Linked DNA regions of Homo sapiens: region 2 is linked to region 1. Evidence: promoter capture Hi-C in human tissues and cell types (Jung and others, 2019). All regions are on one chromosome and are shown on one strand. Each heading gives the region's core, a stretch centred on a gene start or on the middle of the fragment in contact. The rest is flanking DNA. Distances are from core to core; before and after follow the strand shown.

The links. The method cuts DNA at HindIII sites, captures the fragments that hold promoters and counts their contacts. A contact is called where the count stands out against the background at its distance.
Region 2: a contact is called between a fragment that was not itself captured here and the fragment with the promoter of F13B in region 1, in 1 of the 25 tissues and cell types used here (thymus).

Annotation. Positions count from the first base shown.
Region 1 is chr1:197,065,381-197,068,677 of GRCh38, reverse strand. It overlaps F13B (coagulation factor XIII B chain), which reads left to right and starts at 1,418. Exons shown (of 12, transcript NM_001994.3): 1 at 1,418-1,518. The coding sequence starts at 1,455. RefSeq lists an enhancer at 1-310. The HindIII fragment of the contact is 20,654 bases long and covers 1-3,297 here.
Region 2 is chr1:196,717,648-196,720,837 of GRCh38, reverse strand. All of the region lies in intron 11 of CFH (complement factor H), which reads right to left. Among named protein-coding and RNA genes, the nearest start is that of CFHR3, 56 kb to the left of the region's middle. The HindIII fragment of the contact is 7,403 bases long and covers 1-3,190 here.

The DNA of each region.
Region 1 (3,297 bases), core at 169-2,668:
GTTACAGACCTCACCCAGCTCTCACACAACCCAACAAGCAAATCTCACTTCTACTGTGTTCCCCCAAAAAGCACCGAATTTGTTTCCAGGCAGTAGGGGAGCAGGATTGAGAACTTGCCCCAGGCTACTAGCCTCCCAGCTGAGAATGCAAGCCAGACTTTTGTGCCTCCCTACCTGTTAAGTCTGCACACCAGATTCACGCCCTTTCCTGAGTTCTGGACAGGAAAGTTTGTGTTCGGTTGGAATTGTTACTAAGTTCAGCTGGAGGTTTCCTTCTCCCTGTGGTCTTTTCCCAGTTCCTCCGGCAGCCCCTGTGAGACAAGTCAGAAATGGCTTCTCTGGGGACCCACAGAGACGATGGGGCTTTACCCTTTGCTTCCTCTACCCCTGTATTTCGCTCAGCTCTCTAAATTGTCTGAGCTCCAGGTAAGGTCAAATCCTTCTCCTGTGATCTAGACCTTCAGGTTCCCCAAGGGTGTGTGTTCAGGGGTGGACAATACCCCTTTCACACTTTTCACAGTTTGGGCATTCACAGTATGTGGGCTATTTTCTGGGTCATGCAGGAGCAATATACTTTCTTCAGAGGGTCTGTGGATTATCTTGGCTTTCCTGTTATATCCTTGCAGCAGTTCTTGGAGCAAAAGTTCACAATGCGAGTCTCCACATCCTGCTCTGTCCATCCAAGTGGGAGCTGCAAGTTAGTCCTGCCTCCTATCCACCATTTTTTCCTATTTTGTATTTTAAATTAAAACTCATTAGAATGTAAACTCCATGAGGGCAATAATTTTAATCCAGTTTTTTCACTGCTAAATACCTCAAAACTGTTACATGTGCTGCCATTATCATGGACGTTCTAAACATTTCTCATGAATGAATGTTGATATAGCACAGTGCTGATCTCACCACCTGCCACAAAGTAAAAACTCTCTAAATGTCAAACACTACTATTATAAGTAATACTATTCTATCATTGAGACAACTATGGTTCTGTATCTCTTTAAGGAGTGCAGTCTAGGCAACAACATATTTCAACATCAGGTATCTGTTATCTCATGTTCCTAAGTTCATCTTTTTACCTGATCAATATTAGTAAAGATCTATGGCCTCAAGTGAACTTTACTCTATGAATTTACAATTGGGAACTTAGGTTGAAAATTTACCTAGTATTATTTATTCTGCTGCTATAATTTATTATTTATTCTGCTGCTATTGTTGCCCTAATCAGTTATCATGCTCTTACTGGACTCTGACATGGTAAGTAATGTCAATTAATATAGTTGTGTTATTTTAACATTATTTCAAAATATTTTAAGTGAAATATAAGACTCGTTACAAAAGGACTTAGACAGAGGTTATAAATTATTAACTTTTTCCTCAAGAGAAGTATTGTGTACTTAATGACAAGTTCCTAGTGCTTAGAATTGTTAAAATCTTTGTGAAGCACACCACTGAAGATGAGGTTGAAAAACCTGACTTTTATCATCATATTGATAATCTCAGGAGAACTCTATGCAGAAGGTAAAATTAATTCTTAATATTCTTTATTCTCTAAAACATACAAATGGAGATTCTAATATTTATACAACTCAAGTTTTAATATACTCTTCTATTTTCATTATCAATTTTATAACATATTTTATAAATATAACTTTTTATAATATTTAGACCTTTTCCTTTGAGCAAAATTAGTAAAGTGTTCTTACAGTAGCATAAGTCAGAAAAGCAAAACAAAACAAAAACCCTTGTATCTCTAGGGGGCATAGGAGACCAGGATCTAAATACTTCGAAAAGGTTTTCAGGTTAACAATATGTCCATTTCGAAGTCACATGTTAACTTTAATTCTAAATTTATGCTAGAATCCATTCCTAATACTGACAAAACTTGTACAATTTTAATTCTGTTCATAAGGTGAGAGTTTAATGTGGGAAATTTGAAAAGGAAATAGCCATAAATATTTTTTACTTTTGAGACTTTGATTTTTATCACAATGAATTATTCATTTGTTGGAGACATTAAGTAGTGATTAGTAGGTGAACCATATAATTGCTTGTACAAACAGGGACACTTAGAGAGTAAAAGAGGGGCTCTATTAATAACTGTTTGGACAACACATGTAAATCAGGACTTTCCAAACAAACCAATACCTATGGACTCCCTATTAGAAAGCTTTATAGTCAGATTGCCCAATGTGTAAGATTAGTGTGCGAGTGGAAGCTAGGCAGTGTACATGGGTATGTTGTTCAGGAACATTATCAATATTATCAGGCCATAGGATGAAGAATCCAGGGAGGACACTTAGCATTAGCAAGAGTGAACATACAAAGAAGGAAGCTACAGCAATACAGCTTTTCTAAAATAAACATTTTTGGGAATTTGTTGAAATTAAATACATAAGTTTTAACTGTGTTTTAGTTGAATAGTTAACTATAAATTTTCTACCAAAACATCTATAATTAAAATTATAAAAGTGAAAGACACAGAATTAATCTTATTTTATACTTTTAATTCTATAATAGGATGATTTTTGCATGAATTTCTTTTGATTTTATTTTTCTGTCTAAATAGGGAAATACCAGCAGATATAATTGTCTGTTATCTATACCATAAAGACATTGCAATATTCTAGTTAATTTTCTAATTATTATAAGGTTATAATGCTATTTTACACAACAAAAAAAAAAGTAAGCTGCTTGAAGACCAAGACAATGATTTTATTTTTGCATGCTTCTCTCAACTCCCATTGTGCACTTCAGGGACAAGAATTGAATTAATTGTGTTTCTCATTTCATGGTATGCAAGTATTATTGGCCTATGAAAGGTCTCACTCTTGCTTTACTTACACATTTTATCCCCTTATTCCTAATCTTGAAGTCCATTTCCCCTGGGACCTACTACAATGTTTTAACATGTTACTCTAGCTCTCTCAACCACAAATAGCTCTGGAATGAATATTGTAATATAACCAACTTATCTTTCTGTAAGAATGTCATCAGTCTGTATTCACTCACAGATAGCATTATTGAGTCTATTCTTGTACTTGATTTCTGTAATGAGAGATTACTTTTGCAGAATGGCAGTTTTGAAGTATATCATCTCTGAGAGAGGATGTAAATTGTTGCTCCTCATCATTCTCACCAACACCTCATATTGTCCATTTTTGTACTGGTTGCTATATGGTTATTCATAAAGTGATATCCCATTTTTATTTATTTACCATTCTCTGATCAGTAGTAAGTGTGTCCATCGCTTCATGTACTTTTTTTAATATGTTCAGACATCTGTGATTTCCTGGTTTA
Region 2 (3,190 bases), core at 118-2,617, 350 kb after region 1:
CCAGCAATCCCACTACTGTGTATCTACCCAAAGGAAATCAATTATCATATCAAAATGATACCCAGACTCATATGTTTATAGCCTCACTACTCACAGTAGCAATAATATGGAATCAAACTAATTGTCCACCAACAGATGATTGGATAAAGAATATGTGGTATAGATATATGCCATAGAATACTACTCAGCCAAAACAAAAAATAAAAAGAAAAAAAAAGAATAAAATCATGCCTTCAGAAGCAACATGTATAAAACTAAAGGCCATTATTTTAGGTAAAATAATTCAGATTCAGAAAGTAAAATCCCACATATTGTCACTTATAAGTGAGAGCTAAATAATGCGTACATATGGACAGAGAGTGCTGAGTAACAGACATTGGAGACTCAGAAATGTGGCAGGATAGCAGGAGGGTGAGGAATAAGAAATTACCTAATGGGTGCAATGTTCAGTATTTGGGTGATGAATACACTAAAAGTACAGACTTCACCACTATGCAATATATCCATGCAACAAAACTGCATTTGGACCATCTAAACATATAAAACATAGAAATTAAAATTTTAAAAATAAAAGAACACATCATAAAACACCATGGAAATATCTTAAGAAGTTAAATTTATAATAGAACTGGGGAGGATCCCGAGAATAATGATGGTATAATATCTGTCATTGCAGAGTCAATGATAACTTTATTTAACTGAAACTAAACAACCTCAAATGATTTCTGGTCTCATCATGTTTATAATTCTTGATGACTGACATATACATCACAAAAAGGTAAATTCTCATCAAAGATTTATTAGTGAAGATATATGCACTAAGAAATTAATTAAAATTGGTATTTTTGTTTAATGTAATCAAGGAAAAAGAACCCAAAATAGCATTTCTAATATATTTTAAGTTAAAAAAAATATAAAAAACACATAATTAATATATTACAAATAAAGAAAACAAACCAAGATAAATTTTCAAGTTCACATGGAAAGGCAAATTCTAGGTATCCTGAATATTTATGTTAACATATAACAATTTTTGTTATATGTACTATTTATATCAATGTTTAATAAATTTGATAATTATTCTGATTCAGATAAGAAATGTGTAAAATTATCTCTTACATGTTTATAATTTTTAAAAATCAGCAACATTACTAAATATTATCCAAAATATTATTTTTCTTATTCAGAATCCTCCTTTCTTGCTAACTTAGAAAAGTACAAGCTAGAATTCATAAATTAGAATCATACTAAAAAGAAAATTAATTACATCATAACCTCAATTATTAAAATACAATTACAAAATTAGATTTAAAACTATTCTTAAAAGTAATGTCACAAAATAATAACTACAAAAATTTGCTTTTGTGTTTGTTTTAATGAGTTTTGCAGATTATTTGAGAAAATCACACTTGAATGAGAATCACTGGGATTTCTCTCCTAAAAGTCTATACCAATCTTCTACATAGCAATTCTTTTTTTTGTATGTGTGTTTGTTCACGTATTTTGTGCTAATTTTATATAAATTCTGTCTGTTGTAATATTGTGAAAAGCATTATCTTAAAAAGGAAAGTTAAGATCTTGATTATTGGGTATTATTCAAATGCTGTATTTATATAGAGGTAATAACTTACAAAACGTGATTTAGAGAAGAATGTGAATGGACACTCCATGAATTAGAAATATTTTTCTTCATCTAAAACTCAAAACCCTAAGTCCTAGTACTAGATATGTGAAATGTTAATATGAATTTTTAACTCTGAGATACATACTCCTTATTTAGCTTAAGTGCTCCATAATAACAATTCTGTGGAAACCTTTCCACAAAGAAGAGACCTCCTAGGACACTTGAAATATACTCAGATGTCTGTCAATCCACATGCAGTTTTCTGTTACATGGCTGAGAGAAGAATATTTGAAAAGAATACTAAGCTGGTATTTCTTCGTTTAATGTTTGGAGGCCTGTACTATACTAGCAAATTCCTAGTTATGTGTTCAAATGATCCTAAGTCTTTGTACAATTTGCAATAGAAAGACATTTTCTACATCAGCTTCTACTGCTATGTCCGCCACTCCAACTTTCTCTCCTTTAGGTTTTCATTTCATGTCTGGTGATTGGAAAGACTACTGAAGCAATATATTCACAATTTTGTGTTCTTTTTTGAAGAAGACCCCTCAAAATTGTAAAAGCTTCTGGCTTCATAAAACCTAAATTTACCTATCATCACAGAAAAGAAATTTATGAGTCTCTTAAATTAAGCCTCCCCCTCTCAATTAGAGCAAAACTCAACCTCTTTATGATCCATGCCTACTCTTCCAATGTTATCAAATGTCTCTCTCCTCCACTAAATCCAGGATTCAGATTTTATGATCTTTGAATTTTATTAAAAAGGTCAAGTTCTTCGCTGCCTCAGCTGTTGCACATACCCTTCTCACTATAACAAATGGCTTTCAACCATTCTTTGCATCGATGACTTCCTATGTAAAACAGATCTCCAGTTCCTTCCCTCCTATTTTCTATCTCAATTATTGGATTTTCTATTTCTCTGTACACAGTGATACATAAAATATATTTTAAATATTTTTATTACTTGGATATTTGGCTTATCTCTTTTTAGTTTTCCACTGTCTTATATTAGAATAAAATCTCTGGATAAGTAGACCTGTGCTTGTGTTTTCACCATTTTCTCCTGTCCTATGATAGGTGTTTACAACAGCAGGAATGAGTCAAATTTAACTGGACCTTTGACACTGCCTTTCATCTACAATGTACTCATTCTCTTTCTCAGCTGTGACTATTTCAAAACTTTTCTATTCTACCTAGTACTCTTCCTCCTCCTTCGCCCACACACTATTCAATCTCAGATGACCATGTCTCATACTTCAAAACAGAATCCATCAGCTTCTACCATTTTCCAACGTTACTGCTCATTTTCCTTCCCATCTCCTGTCACAAAGTTGTAAGCAGTCCTGTTGCCACCTGTCACAAGGTTGTAAGCAGTCCTGTTGCCACCAAAGCACAATACCTCCACAGTAGCTGTGAGTCCTTTCCCCTCGCATTTTCTCAGGGCAACTATGTAAGTCATGTGTTCAGCCTTTGCAGCTCCCCTTTTGCTGTATCTGCTCTGGTGTCTTCCATCTTTTTTCTTTTAATTATCCCTTCAGTGCACAACTTTCCTCAAGCAATATTCTG